5 separate regions of the Homo sapiens genome follow, and regions 2, 3, 4 and 5 are each linked to region 1. Evidence: promoter capture Hi-C in human tissues and cell types (Jung and others, 2019). All regions are on one chromosome and are shown on one strand. Each heading gives the region's core, a stretch centred on a gene start or on the middle of the fragment in contact. The rest is flanking DNA. Distances are from core to core; before and after follow the strand shown. Region 1 holds the start of CLIP1 (CAP-Gly domain containing linker protein 1). Region 2 overlaps KNTC1 (kinetochore associated 1). Region 3 overlaps CLIP1 (CAP-Gly domain containing linker protein 1). Region 4 overlaps RSRC2 (arginine and serine rich coiled-coil 2). Region 5 overlaps CLIP1 (CAP-Gly domain containing linker protein 1).

Region 1 (2,800 bases), core at 142-2,641:
ACACCCAGCCCCAAAACAATATTTTTAATAAAGACAGGCTCAGCCTACTGAGTAGAGAAGAAAAGACAAGCCCATAAGTGTTCCTAGCTGAACTCCCCCATTAGAAGTGGTCTGTGCCTCATCCTATGACATCTATGATTCCACAGCTTGCTGATTACAGCTGAAGACTGTTTAGATTAGGGGGTGAGGCGCGCCTTTCAGATTAGGAATATGGATATGGGATTTCAGGAGTACCACCACCACCTGACCTTGCAGCCTGTAAATTAGGGCGATGTTGAATTAGGTAACAGCATTTCGAGGGATTTCAGACATGAATGGAGAGGAGGGGCCAGGAGACAAATTTACATAGTTCAGAACTTCGTGCATTACCAGAGCAGTTCCCTCTTCCTGCTGGTCCAGGCAGCACGGTGCTTTGAATAAAGGTCAGCTAGAGGGGTCACCCGCCGATTATTCTCTTCTACTGGCAAGGAGGAGGAAGCCCCTGCCCCCTTATCCACCACAAAATCCTGGGCTTCCCCGACAGCTGCAAATTCCTCCCTGGAGATGTAAGGCTTCTGGGGTTGCCATGGTCCATGGGAGTGAAATGCTGGCCGCCCTCTGCTACCCCAGCCCCGAGCAGGCTGTTGCAGCCTTCCCTCCTGTCCCTTTCAAAAGCTTTTAAAGGAAATCCCAGGGGGGAAGGAGGATGGGACACTAACCAGGGCTTCCGTCCAAGCAGCCAGGGCGAATAAAAGGGGCTTTTCTCAAACGAACGGAGCAAACCCTGGGATCGTTTCAAAGGATTTTTAACCCGCGGTCGTTCCCGGAGGGAAGTGGGGAGCAGATACAGTTCTTCCCAAGCTTAACCTGCTCTACAGTTCCTTTCAGCATTTTCTCCAGGGACGCCTCATCCAGGGTCTTTCCCTGGAGGGAGGCGAGGGCAGAGATGATCCTTCCCAATCCCCAACTTAACCTGCTTCGGAAGCGCCTTGCAGCCTGTTTCAAAGGATTTCTCACCCTTGTCTGGCGGGAAGGGGAGGGCAAACAAATGAATCAGCCCCAAAGAGCGGGCTGAGGTCGAGGCTGAATGGGGCTCTTGGGTGTGACTTGCAAATTCTGGGAACACTTTGCAGAAATGACGAGAAGCCCCTCGGAGCAGGCCTGTGGGTTTTCCCTCGCACCTTGCTCCCCAAGCCGGGGCTCGGGAGGGTTCGAGGGCGGAGCGGCGGGCGCGCCGGGGCCAGGGTCCTCCCGGGGCCGCGGTGGGCGCAGACAAAGAGGCGGCGGGGCGGCGCGGGGCCGGGCGCGGGCCGCAGGGCCGGTGCGGACTCGAGGGGCCGGGCCGGCCGGGCCGGCCGGGCGGGCGCGGCGGCGGAGCGCTGGGAGGAGCCGCGCGGCGTCTTCTCCTGGCAGCGCGCGCCCGCCCGGCCCCGCGGCGGCGGCGGCGCGTCACGCTCTCCCCCGCCCCGAGCCGACGAGCCGGGAGGCGGGAGGCGGCGGCCGCGGCGGCTGCTGCTGCTGCAGTGGGACAGGTGGCGGCGACCGGCGGCGTCCGAGGAGGTGAGCAGGGGGCGGCGCGGGCCCTCTCCCTTTCCCGGCACCCCCTGCTCCCCTGCCGGCTTCCCGGCCTGCGGGGCCCGCCCAGGGTCGGGTCGGGGGTCGAAGCCCGGCGTCCGGGAGCGGGGCCGAGCCTCGCGCGCCGGAGCCGTCCGGGAGGGGACCGCGGGAGTCTCGGGTGGCCGGCGCCGGAGGCCGGGGGTCCCTGGGGGGCTCCTCCGGAGCTGGAAAAGTGGCGGCCCTGTCAGCGCCGAGCCGGGCCTTCGCTTCCTCCGCCCGCCTCAAGATGGAGCTTGGACTCCTTGCCCCTGCGCCGCCCCAGGCGCCGCTCTCTCCCTGGCGCCCCGCTCCCTCTCCTGGGCCCCGGGGCGGATGTGGGATCGGCCGGACCCCGGGAGGCCGAAGCCGGGCGGGACCTGTTGCCCCGGGCGCCGCGCCTGTCACCTGAGCATTCCTCAGGCCCCGGGTGCCCGGCGCCCGCGATCCGGCATGGAGGGCACCCTGGCCCGGCCTCCCCCGCTGCCCCGGCTTTTGTTTTCCTCTCAAGTGGGGCTGTGATTCTCGGAGACCGGGGAAGGCTGGAGGTGGCCAGATCGCTCTCGGGTTTCCGAAATCACACCGCTGCCCGGTAATCCGAACCTTCTACCGCGGCAGGGGATTGGCGCGGAAGGCAGATGACACTTGTTCAGAGGTTATTTTACAAGCAGAACCTAGCGATTGCCCGAATTGGAAGGTCCTGCCTTTCAAAAATCGGGTTTTGATTCGGGGGTGAATCCTGAATCCGGCTGTTTCTCCACTTCATGTGGCTTTTCCATCTGGCAGGAGCCGAGCGCCACCCCCTCCTCCCTGCACAGCCCCACCTCTTTGGTATGAAGAAATTACACGTTGTCCGTCATCGGTTTAGATACCTGTTTTTAGCAAAACTTGGGCGCCAGTGAACTGTTTTTTAAAACAAAGGGTGGAGAAGATTCTGTAATTGTGTGTGTGTGATTCAGCAGCCTGGCCTTCTTCCTCTTTTAGGACAGTGGCCCCTAGCAGCTCTATAAGTATTAAGTGCTGTGGCCACTGCTGTCATTAGGGTTATGATTCTGGCTGTTCTTATTATTTGATTTGTGTCACTACTGTTAGCGATGGTATCCACGAATCAGGAGAGTATCCCAGAGTCAGGAATGTGTTTGTTTGACTTTTAGATTTAATGATAACCTTTAGCAAGAATCCCCAGGCATGTCGCTTCTCAGACTTGGGGCCTTTTTTTCTCTGTAAA
Region 2 (2,800 bases), core at 225-2,724, 110 kb before region 1:
TCAAACATTTTTATATGTGTTTAATAATACTTATCAATAGTATCATCAAATTCCCAAATATCCCACTTTAAAACTTGACAGGCTTTTTTTCTTTAGCCCCTCTATCTAATTAATCATCGAGTTTTTCTTTGTATGGTATATCTTGAATCCATCCAGGATCCTAAGTAGAAAAACAGTTCAGGATGAGCAGGAAGGGCAAAGGATTCTCATGTTCAAGTCCTTGTTTCCTCAGGATTGACTTTATGCTGCAGGAGCCAGGTATTAACATAATGAATTAATCAAGATTGGAATAAAGTCTTGGTGTCGTGGATACGCTAGGCAGGGGAACGGTGGTGAACTGTGAACTGGAGGGTCCATGCCCCCACAGACATGAAAGAATAGAGTCTACTTCACACCAGCCAGTGGGAAGCCTGGTGGGGATGCAGCACTGGCATGGCCATACCTCCCAATTCATCAACAGAAGCTGGATCTTTATGTGAAATGTTCTGATTTTTAAATATTGGCAGCTAAGCCAACATTTTTAAAAACAGTAGACAAGCCAAATCAGAGTCTCCAGTATTCAGTTTCTGTTGCCAAGAGCCTCCCACACATAGCTGTCTTGAAGCACTGGGACAGATTAGTGGTTGAGGAAGCTCAGTCCCTTACTAGCTAAGTGATCTTAGGCAAATGCATCAACTAACTCCATGTAAAAGAGTAACAATAATAATACCTACAAGGTTCACCTGAATAAAGATTAAACGAATTCACGTAAAGGGCTTATGAGAGAGCCCTGCACATAGTATATGCTCAATAAATGTTAACCAGTCCTATTCTTCCCTGACAAAATACAGCTAATCACCTCATTTTATGACTATTTCAAAAGTCATCTTCTCCAGGTGTAATCCTTGAAAATTCCCCAACATTCTGATCCCTCTTCTACCTTATTTTTTTCTTTATTTTGAGACAGGGTCTCCCTCTGTCGCTCAGGTTGGAATGCAGTGATGCCATCATAACTCACTGCAGCCTTAAACACCTGGGCTCAAGGGATCTTCGTGCCTCCCCAACCCAAGTAGCTGGGACTACACATGCACACCATCACACCTGGCTAATTTTCTTTTTCTTTTATAGAGACGGGGTTTTCACTGTGTTGGCCAGGCTGGTCTAGAACTCCTGGACTCAAACGATCCTTCCATCCCAACCACCCAAAGTGCCGGGAATACAAATGTGAGGCACTGCGCCCAGCCTCCTTCTTATCTTTTTACTTGCTTCTTCAACTAGTAAAAGGTTACATGAAGGCACTGCCAACAAGGAATGGCACTAAAATTAGCCGGGCGTGGTGGCGGACGCATGTAATCCCAGCTACTGGGGAGGCTGAGGCACGAGAATCACTTGAACCCGAGAGGCAGAGGTTGCAGTGAGCCAAGATCACACCACTGCACTCCAGCCTGGGCAACAGAGCAAGACTCTGCCTCAAAAAAAAAAAAAAGAAAAGGAACGGCACTATATCTTCTAGGGATCTGTCCACACTGTTCTCTCTAGACTCTTCTCTCTAGACTGTTCTCCTTCTTAAGGCCCAAAGCAAGTGTAGTTTATTTTAATTTTTATTTTTTTTAGAGATGTTGTCTCCCTATGTTGCCCAGGCTGGCCTCAAACTCCTGGGCTCACGCCATTCTCCTGCCTCAGCCTGAGTAGCTGGGACTACAGGACATGCCACCACACCGGGCTCACACATAGTTTCTTAAGGAAATGCTCCTTAAACTGCCCAACCGACAATGAGCTCTCCAGCCACTGAATTCCTACTCATTTACTGTCTGTACTGTTCATTTGGCATTTAGCATATACTGACTTGCACAGCTAAGCATCTTTTATTGTTTGTGTCCTGTGTGCCTAACTTTAAGGTAAGATCCTAAAAGGAATGAATAAGATGCCATCTTATGTCCAAGTTCCTAATATTGGGCTCAGAACATAGCAGATGTTCAAAACATGTTGGTAAGTGTATGCCACGTGCTAATAATAGATAGAATTTTAGTTCCTACCAGAATCCAAGATTCTATACACATGCACTATTATTTTTCAACAGCAACCTTGAGGTCAAGAAAGGCCTGAGCCACTTCCACGTTTTAAGGCTCCTGATAATATTAAAAAATAAAGCCCGGGCACAGTGATTCACACCTGTAATCCCAGAACTTTGGGAGGCCGAGGTGGGTGGATCACAAGGTCAAGAGATCGAGACCATCCTGCTCAACATGGTGAAGCCTCATCTCTACTAAAAACACAAAAATTAGCTGGGTGTGGTGGCTCGTGTCTGTATTCCCAGTTACTCGGGAGGGTGAGGCAGAAGAATCGCTTGAACCCAGGAGGCGGAGGTTGCAATGAGCCAAGATCACGCCACTGCACTCCAGCCTGGTGACAGAGCAAGAGTTCGTCTCAAAAAAAAAAAAAAAAAAAAAGAAAAATTAGCCAGGCGTGGTGGCAGGCGCCTATAATCCCAGCTACTCCAGAGGCTGAGGCAGGAGAATCACTTGAATCCAGGAGTGGGAGGTTGTAATGAGTCAATATCACATCACTGTACTCCAGCCTGGGCTACAGAGTGAGAGTCTCTCTTAAAAAAAAAAAAAACAAATGGCCGGGTGCGGTGGCTCAAGCCTGTAATCCCAGCACTTTGGGAGGCCGAGCCGGGCGGATCACGAGGTCAGGAGATCGAGACCATCCTGGCTAACATGGTGAAACCCCGTCTCTACTAAAAATACAAAAAATTAGCTGGGCATAGTGGCGGGCGCCTGTAGTCCCAGCTACTTGAGAGGCTGAGGCAGGAGAATGG
Region 3 (2,800 bases), core at 84-2,583, 97 kb after region 1:
CTCACTCTGTCACCCAGGCTGAGTGCAGCGGCACAGTCATGGCTCACTGCAGCCTCAACCTCTCGGGCTCAAGTGATCCCCTTGCCTCAGCTTCCCAAGTAGCTGAGACTAAAAGCACGTGCCACTACACCTGGCTAATTTTTTATTTTTTGTAGAGACAGAGTCTCGCTATGTTGCTCAGGCTGGTCTCGAACCCCTGGATGCAAGCGATCCACCTGCTTCAGCTTCCCAAGGTGCTGGGATTGCAGGCGTGATTCATCGTTCCTGGCCAGTCTCACAAGGCGCTGGGGTTGCAGGCGTGAGCCACCATTCCTGGCCAGTCTCACAAGGCGCTGGGGTTGCAGGCGTGAGCCACCATTCCTGGCCAGTCTCACAAGGTGCTGGGATTGCAGGCATGAGCCACCATTCCTGGCCAGTCTCACTGATTTTGTTGGTTGGTTTTGTGCAAGAGTCATTGAGTTAAAAATGCCAGGACTGTTCCCCTCCAAACGTGTCTAGTATCTAATTTCAGTGGATCGTAATCAGTCCCAGACTCTTTGGAATAATCTAATGAAATCTACAGATATTTTTTCAGGAAAGTTTACGTGTGCACTCAACAAGGTTCCTGGAACCCATGAAGCCTCCTATTCCCTACTTTTAAGAGCCAGTGGGCTATAGCTGTGCTGCCTAATGTAGTAGCCACCAGCCATGTGAGGCCATTCAAATGTAAATTTGTAGCCAGTTCTGGTGGCTCACGCCTGTAATCCTAGCACTTTGGGAGGCCAAGGTGGGCAGATTGCCTGAGCACAGGAGTTTGAGACCACCCTGGACAACATCGTGAGACCGTCTCTACTACAAATACAAAAAATTAATTGGGTGTGGTGGCACACACCTGTAGTCCCAGCTACTCAGGAGGCTGAGGCAGGAGAATCCTTTGAGCCTGGGAGGCGGAGGCTGCAGTGAGCTGAGATGGTGCCACTGCACTCTGGCCTGGGTGACAGAGTGAGACTGTCTCAAAAAATAAATAAAAATAAAAACCTTAATATGGGAATATATGCGGTCTACATTATTTTCTCTATTTTTGTATATGCTTAAAAGAGGATCGCTTGAAACTGGGAGGCAGAGGTTGCAGTGAGCCGAGATCGCGCCACTTCCCTCCAGCCTGGGCCACAGAGTGAGACTCTGCCTCCAAAATAAATAAATAAATAAATAAATTTAAATTTGTTACATTTTAATTAAAAATTTAGCTCCTCAGTTGCACTCACCACATTTCAGGTGCTCAGTAGTCATATGGTCACCATGATGGGAGTGCAAATAAGAACATTTATATCAGCTGGGCGTGGTGGCTCATGCCTGTAATCCCAGCACTTCGGGAGGCCTAGGTGGGTGGATCACTTGGGGTCAGGAGTTTGAGACCAGCCTGGCCAACATGGTGAAACCCCGTCTCTACTAAAAATACAAAAATTAGCCGGGCACGGTGGCGGAGCCTTGTAATCCCAGCTACTTGGGAGGCTGAGGCATGAGAATAGCTTGAACCCAGAGGCGGAGGTTGCAGTGAGCCAAGATCGCACCATTGCACTCCAGCCTGGGCAATAGATAGAGCGAGACTCAGTCTCAAAAAAAAAAAAAAAAAATTATATCATTGCAGAAAGTTCTGGATAGCACTGGTATAGACACTGTGGTCAAATTATCTTATAATTCAGTAAATAAAAAAAAAAAACTATTCCTTTTAGTCAGCAAAGCCTAGAAATTAGGCTGTAGTTTTTAAGTTATATGTGATATTGGGACTAAATCACTCTCAGCCCCTCAGCTACCCTTAAGTAAGGTCCTGTGGTGAGTTTGGAAGGCAGTAGTTTATTTTCCCTTGTTATGCCCCTTCCTTTTTTCATTAAAATATACTGAGTTTTTGTACTTCTTTTAATTGTATTTTTAAAAATTGTTCTATGAATCCTTTCTGCTTTCAAAGTAATTTGATAATTGGAATGGCAGGAAAGAATCTTATGCCCTGATATTAAAATCAAGCTACTATTTTTATCTTCTAGGTAGCTACTGGGAATAATTTCACAAGTTGTTTCAAAGATAAAATAAGCTAACAGATACAGAAGCACTTTGCAAAACTACACTTTTGACTTACCTTTTTATGGGCTCTGTTTAGTTTCTTTCCCTTGTTATTCAGATAGTTTCTATAAAGTTTATTGTAGAAATTGTAAAGTTTTTATCATTTAGGTTACATTAAGTTATTTGGGCTTGCATTTGTCTGCTTGATTTCATTTTTGTTTCCATTCTTTCCATCTTTTGTTTCTGTAGTCGCTAACTTATTTGTTAACATCAGCCAAAAAAGAAATTGAACTAATGTCAGAAGAGCTGAGGGGTCTGAAATCAGAGAAGCAGCTTCTTTCTCAGGAGGGAAATGATTTAAAGTTAGAAAACGGTTCACTTTTATCCAAGCTTGTAGAATTGGAGGCCAAAATAGCTTTACTTCAGGGAGACCAGCAGAAACTGTGGTCAGTGAATGAAACTCTTAATTTAGAAAAGGAGAAATTCTTAGAAGAAAAGCAAGATGCCGAAAAGTATTATGAGCAGGAACATCTCAATAAAGAAGCTTTGGCTGTTGAGAGAGAGAAATTGCTTAAAGAAATCAATGTTGTACAGGAAGAACTCTTGAAGATAAATGTGGAAAATGACTCTTTGCAAGCTTCCAAGGTGAGCATGCAGGCACTCATTGAAGAGCTCCAGCTCAGCAAAGATACTTTGATTGCTAAGACTGAGAAGGACCAGGAAGAAAAAGATCACCTGGAGGACCAGATCAAGAAACTTATTA
Region 4 (2,800 bases), core at 217-2,716, 85 kb before region 1:
ATTTCATAAATTTAAAAAAATACAAGGTTTTATTGTTTTGTAATTATACCTTAGAAACACTATAGTTCATCTCCACTGAAATCATACTTTCTTACTATTTGCAGAATTCTCTATCCTCAAAGTAAATAAATGGGTTTTTTTTTTGTTTTGATACGGAGTTTCGCTCTTGTTGCCCAGGCTGGAGTGCAGTGGCATGATCTCGACTCACTGCAACCTTCGCCTTTTGGGTTCAAGTGATTCTCCTGCGTCAGCCTCCCGAGTAGCTGAGATTACGGGCATGTACCACCACGCCCGGCTAATTTTGTATTTTTGGTAGAGACGGGGTTTCTCCATGTTGGTCAGGCTGGTCTCGAACTCCCAACCTCAGGTGATCCGCCCACCTCAGCCTCCCAAAGTGCTGGGATTACAGGCGTGAGCCACTGCGCCTTGCAATAAATGGTTTATATATCAAGGGTTTATGTAGAAATATGTCCGTTGATGAACACAATAAATGTTTGCTAAAAACTTGTGAGCTAATACTCAGTCATTTCCTTGGATTTGGTGAAAATCCTGCCTTTTTGCACATTCATAGCTTTTTATAAATCGTTCGTTAATGTAAATCAGGAGGTTTATGTTTTAAAATCGTTTTAAAATCCATTTTTGTATTCTCTTCAAGCAGCTGCAGCTACTGGAGGTTCTGTTCTCAATGTTGCTGCCCTGTTGGCATCAGGAACACAAGTAACACCTCAGATAGCCATGGCAGCTCAGATGGCAGCCCTGCAAGCTAAAGCTTTGGCAGAGACAGGAATAGCTGTTCCTAGCTACTATAACCCAGCCGCTGTTAATCCAATGAAATTTGCTGAACAAGAGAAAAAAAGGAAAATGCTTTGGCAGGGCAAGAAAGAAGGGGTAAGTTCTCTTATTCTGCTTTTCTGTCGTTTATTCCTAATTAGTAATTGCTTAGAAAAACAAATTTGGGTTGAAAAATATTACTTTCGGCTTAACTTTGTAAGAACCTGGGGTGGCCAGACGCGGGTGGCTTATGCCTTTAATCCCAGCACTTTGGGATGCCAAGTGAGCGGATCAGTTGAGGTAAGGAGTCCAAGACCAGCCTGGCCAACATGGCAAAACCCTGTCTCTACTGAAAAGAAGATAAAAATCAGCTGGGTGTGGTGGCACACACCTGTAATCCCAGGTGCTTGGGAGGCTGAGGCAGGAGAATCGCTTGAGCCTGGGATGCAGAGCCTACATACAGTGAGCCAAGATCATGCCACTTAGCCAGGCATGGTGGTGGGCACCTGTAATCCCAGCTACTTGGGAGGCTGAAACAGGAGAATCACTTGATCCTGGGAGGCGGAGGTTGCAGTGAGTTTCCAGCGAAACTCCATCTGGAAAAAAAAAAAAAAAATCACGCCACTGCACTTCAGCCTGGGTGAGACCCTGTCTCAAAAAACTTATAATAAGCTATGATAGTCTTATTTGCCAGTTATTAATACTAAAATAAAACATAATTGATTGAAGTCAAGCTTTCAAAGAAAACTAATATTACCATAGAAGTAGTAAGGAAAAGAGGCTACTTGGTTTAGAATTTTTCATAGATTATGAGGTACTTTTTTTTTTTTGACATTATTTGCAATGACAAATGACATTAAATGCAAATGACATGCAGTCGCAAAAATTGCATGTTGAAAAAGGTCTATGACAGGAAAATAATCCATTTTTTTATTTTATTTTTATTATTTTTGAGACAGAGTCTTGCTCTTGTCACCCAGGCTGGAATGCAGTGGTGTGATCTCAGCTCACTGCAACCTCTGCCTCCCAGGTTCAAGCAATTCTCCTGCCTCAGACTCCTGAGACCCTCCTGGGTCTACAGGTGCCCACCACCATGCCAGGCTAGTTTTTTGTATTTTTAGTAGAGACGGGGTTTCACCTAGTCATCCAGGCTAGTCTCGATCCCCTGACCTCAGGTGATTTGCCCACCTCGGCCTTCCAAAGTGCTGGGATTATAGGAGTGAAGCACGGCGCCAACCTCTTGCTTGTATTTCTTTGCTTTGTGGTTTCTTAAGTCTTGAAATAATTAAACTTACATTGATTGAATGCTATCCATGGTGTTTTTTTTTTTAATTTAGACATTGTTGAGAGATTTCATGTCCTAAAAAATATTTAAATTTTACATATTTTAAAGTTCAGTGTTTGTTAACAGGACAAATCCCAATCTGCTGAAATATGGGAAAAATTGAATTTTGGAAACAAGGACCAAAATGTCAAATTTAGGAAATTGATGGGTATTAAGGTGAGTTTCACATGTGCCAGGGGATCTTTGTATTAGCTATTAGCCCTCCTGCACTGTTCTTCCCTCATTTTCTTAGTTCTGGTCTTTACTCAGGTGTCAGCGTTTTTGAGTTCTTTCCCACCACCTTTTGTGAAATAACAAGCAATCCCATTCTGAAACATTTCCATCTCCCCTACCCACTGTCCTCCCTACACACACACTTGGAGAGAGAGAGAGAGACGGGGTTTTGCTCTGCTTGCTCTGTCACTTGGGCTGGAGTACAGTGGTGCAGTCATACCTCACTGCAGCCTTAAACTTCGAGGCTCAAGCAGTCCTTCCACCTCGGCCTCTCAAAGCCCTGGATCACAGTTCTGAGCCACTGCGCCCAGCCTCCATCCCCATTTTCTACTTTACTTTCCTCTGTGGCATTTATACCCTGACATCTTCTACATATTATGTTTTTTCCAACCTACTAAACTGAAGTTAACTTTTGTTACACCCTGCTATATTCCAGACCTAGAAAGAACATTGCCTTGTCCTTTGGAGGTG
Region 5 (2,800 bases), core at 221-2,720, 78 kb after region 1:
GCCAGGACATTACTCAGGTTTTAGTTTATTTATATATTAAAGCACCTATATAGTGCATACTTCATGCCAGACACTATTCTAAGTGCTTTGCAGGTATTCAGTCTCAACACAACCCTAGGAGGTAGGGAATATTAGTGTCCCCATTTTACAGACAAGAACACTGAGGCGCAGAGAAGTTAAATAACTTGCCTAAGATAAAACAGCAAATAGTAATAATGGAGGCAGGATTTGCATCTAGGACATTTGGCCCCAGAGTCTGTGCTCTTAAGCACCACAGGATGGAGTCCGTCTATTATGGAAGTTGTTTTGTGCGTAAAGATTAAGAAATGGCCAGGCGCGGTGGCTCATGCCTGTAATCCCAGCACTTTGGGAGGCTGAGGTGGGTGGATCACCTGAGGTTGGGAGTTTGAGACCAGCCTGGCCAACATGGAGAAACCCCATCTCTACTAAAAATACTAAAATTATCCGGGCGTGGTGACACATGCCTGTAATCCCAGCTACTAGGGAGGCTGAGGCAGGAGAATCACTTGAACCTGGGAGGCAGAGGTTGCGGTGAGCCGAGATCACGCCATTGCACTCCAGCCTGGGCAACAAGAGCGAAACTCTGTCTCAAAAAAAAAAAAAGAAAAAGAAATAGTCACTTACATGTAAGATATGTAGTCACATACCCTTTTAAATCATGAATTTGTCTGTCAGTGACTAAATTGCCCAGATTCTTAACTTTAGAATTCCAAAAATTACTCTGTCTCTAATCAAATTTGCTATCCTGATTTTTAAAAAAATTTCTAGTGTTTGTAGAAATTTCTCTTGTTGAGAATTAATTGACTGATCTAAAAATCTAGACAATTTTTCTTTTCTAAATCATGTGTTTTTATTTTTTAAGAAGAAGGAACTATCGGCCTCTGAACTAAAGATTTCTCCTGTGTATTTGGTAAGAAAACAAAAAAAGAGTGGGCCAGGCATGGTGTTTCATGCCTGTAATCCCAGCACTTTGGGAGGCCAAGGCAGGAGGATCACCTGAGTCCAAGAATTCAAGACCAGCCTGGGCAAGGTGGTGATACCCTGCTTCTACAAAAAATAAAAAAAAAAATTAGCTGGGTGTGGTGGCTACATGGCAGGCTGAGGTGGAAGGATCTCTTGAGCCCAGGAGGTCGAGGCTTGCAGTGAGCCATGTTCATGTCTCTGCACTCCAGCCTGGGCAATAGAGCAAGACCCTGTTTCAAAAAAAAAAAAAAAAGTGGCAATTTGGTGCTGTTTCCTCATTAACTGAGAGCCAAATAATTGATCCGGGAAATACAATGGACTAATGAGATTGAGTTCCTTTAGTGTGATGGCTTTTGAAGTAATATATTTTTTTAAAACATGTAAACTCCTCTCCCGTATCTTAGTTTTGTCAGCAAACAATTTTGATGTTTTTTTTCCTGCTCTAGATAAGGCATTCAGTTACACCATGGTTTATCCAAGTATTTCAGTGTAAAGCTTATATCTTTCCATAACGAAGTATGTCTTCTGTTGATCCTCACTCTTGGGTTCCCAAGTGTTAAGATAACCAGCTACCCATGTAAGTTTCATATCACCTATGTTACTTTTTAGGAAGTGCTTTAGAATACTTTCTAGCCAATAAATCCAGTTTCCAAACAGTGTGCTTGGTGCTGTAGAGATGTTAGGAAGAATAAGAAATAATTTCTGACTTAATTCATGGTCTCAAACTAGTGGGAGAAGCAGACATACCACATAGTTTTGAATTAGGGCAGATTTTGGGAAATGAAAAATAAATTGCTGTACTTTATAGGGAAATGCCACGGAAAGTAAAATCACATTGGTATTTATTATTTTTACTTATTTTTTACTTGGCATTTTTCTCTACTTGACTGTTTTGTTGTAACTAAGAACCATTGCCCTATTGGGTTTAATGTATTTATGCTACAGACCTTGCAGCAATGGGGTTTATTAGTGTTTTGTGTTTTTTTTTCTTTTATTTAGCAAATTCTGCCAGATCCTGATGGGTTTATTAATGTTTTGTATGTTATTTTGACGTAACAAACTCTTGGACTCTTCCTTCCCCAGAAAATCATGTGTAAATGAATTAACATCTTTAACCTGATGAGTCTATAACCACGAAGCACAGCAATTATAGTCAGCTCTGAAATATTTAATTTTATTTACTTTGATTATGCAGTTTTGGAGACTCAGTGCTTTCTTTTCCTCTTCTCTTATGGGCATTTTAATCTTTATTGGTGTCACAGCCTGTAGGGTGGACAGAGGAAATGAAAGAAAACATATCTGTTATTTTCTGTCTCAAAGAAAGGCAGTGTGGGAGAGGAGTCTTAAATTCAGAAGAATATTTAACATTTTTTTGTAGAGATGGAGTTCTCGCTGTGTTGCCCAGGCTGATCTTGAACTCCTGGCCACAAGTGATCCTCTTGCCTTGGCCTCCCAAAGTGCTAGGTATATAGGCATGTACCACCTCACCCAGCCAATCACAGGAGTTTTGATCCTTGAAATATGGGACTCACTGCTGTTTTAAAATTATTTTGTTCCCTTTCATTTCCCAGATTAGTCCAAGAATTTTTGTGATGGAAGCTATTTTCCACACATCCTATGTACTAAATGGACTGCATAGCAGGTAGCAGAGGGAAGTAATTTTCTAGCAATGAAAGGGCACAGGTTAAGAAAGTGTTTTTCTAGCCCTGGGGTATTTATTTAAAGGAAGAAGATTCTTGGGTACTATCCCGGAGCTCAAATAGAATCGAAGTACATGGGAATAGGTAGAAACTTGCAGGTTAGATGTACATTCCAG

Evidence for each region. Contacts are between HindIII fragments. The study calls those that stand out against the background at their distance.
Region 2: a fragment that was not itself captured here is called in contact with the fragment with the promoter of CLIP1 in region 1 in 2 of the 25 tissues and cell types used here (hippocampus and pancreas).
Region 3: a fragment that was not itself captured here is called in contact with the fragment with the promoter of CLIP1 in region 1 in 12 of the 25 tissues and cell types used here (H1 embryonic stem cells, IMR-90 fibroblasts, aorta and 9 more).
Region 4: a contact is called between a fragment that was not itself captured here and the fragment with the promoter of CLIP1 in region 1, in 2 of the 25 tissues and cell types used here (IMR-90 fibroblasts and spleen).
Region 5: a contact is called between a fragment that was not itself captured here and the fragment with the promoter of CLIP1 in region 1, in 5 of the 25 tissues and cell types used here (H1 embryonic stem cells, aorta, mesenchymal stem cells and 2 more).

Annotation. Positions count from the first base shown.
Region 1 is chr12:122,421,260-122,424,059 of GRCh38, reverse strand. CLIP1 (CAP-Gly domain containing linker protein 1) reads left to right here and starts at 1,391. Exons shown (of 26, transcript NM_001247997.2): 1 at 1,391-1,539. RefSeq lists an enhancer at 116-215 and silencers at 1,325-1,674, 1,695-2,094. The HindIII fragment of the contact is 23,258 bases long and covers 1-2,800 here.
Region 2 is chr12:122,531,836-122,534,635 of GRCh38, reverse strand. The region is part of intron 2 of KNTC1 (kinetochore associated 1); the gene reads right to left. Among named protein-coding and RNA genes, the nearest start is that of KNTC1, 6.0 kb to the right of the region's middle. The HindIII fragment of the contact is 6,906 bases long and covers 1-2,800 here.
Region 3 is chr12:122,323,868-122,326,667 of GRCh38, reverse strand. All of the region lies in intron 17 of CLIP1 (CAP-Gly domain containing linker protein 1), which reads left to right. Among named protein-coding and RNA genes, the nearest start is that of VPS33A, 59 kb to the right of the region's middle. The HindIII fragment of the contact is 8,257 bases long and covers 1-2,800 here.
Region 4 is chr12:122,506,306-122,509,105 of GRCh38, reverse strand. It overlaps RSRC2 (arginine and serine rich coiled-coil 2), which reads left to right. Exons shown (of 10, transcript NM_023012.6): 8 at 659-888; 9 at 2,183-2,272. Among named protein-coding and RNA genes, the nearest start is that of ZCCHC8, 6.8 kb to the right of the region's middle. The HindIII fragment of the contact is 4,115 bases long and covers 1-2,800 here.
Region 5 is chr12:122,343,614-122,346,413 of GRCh38, reverse strand. The region is part of intron 10 of CLIP1 (CAP-Gly domain containing linker protein 1); the gene reads left to right. Among named protein-coding and RNA genes, the nearest start is that of CLIP1-AS1, 51 kb to the left of the region's middle. The HindIII fragment of the contact is 6,248 bases long and covers 1-2,800 here.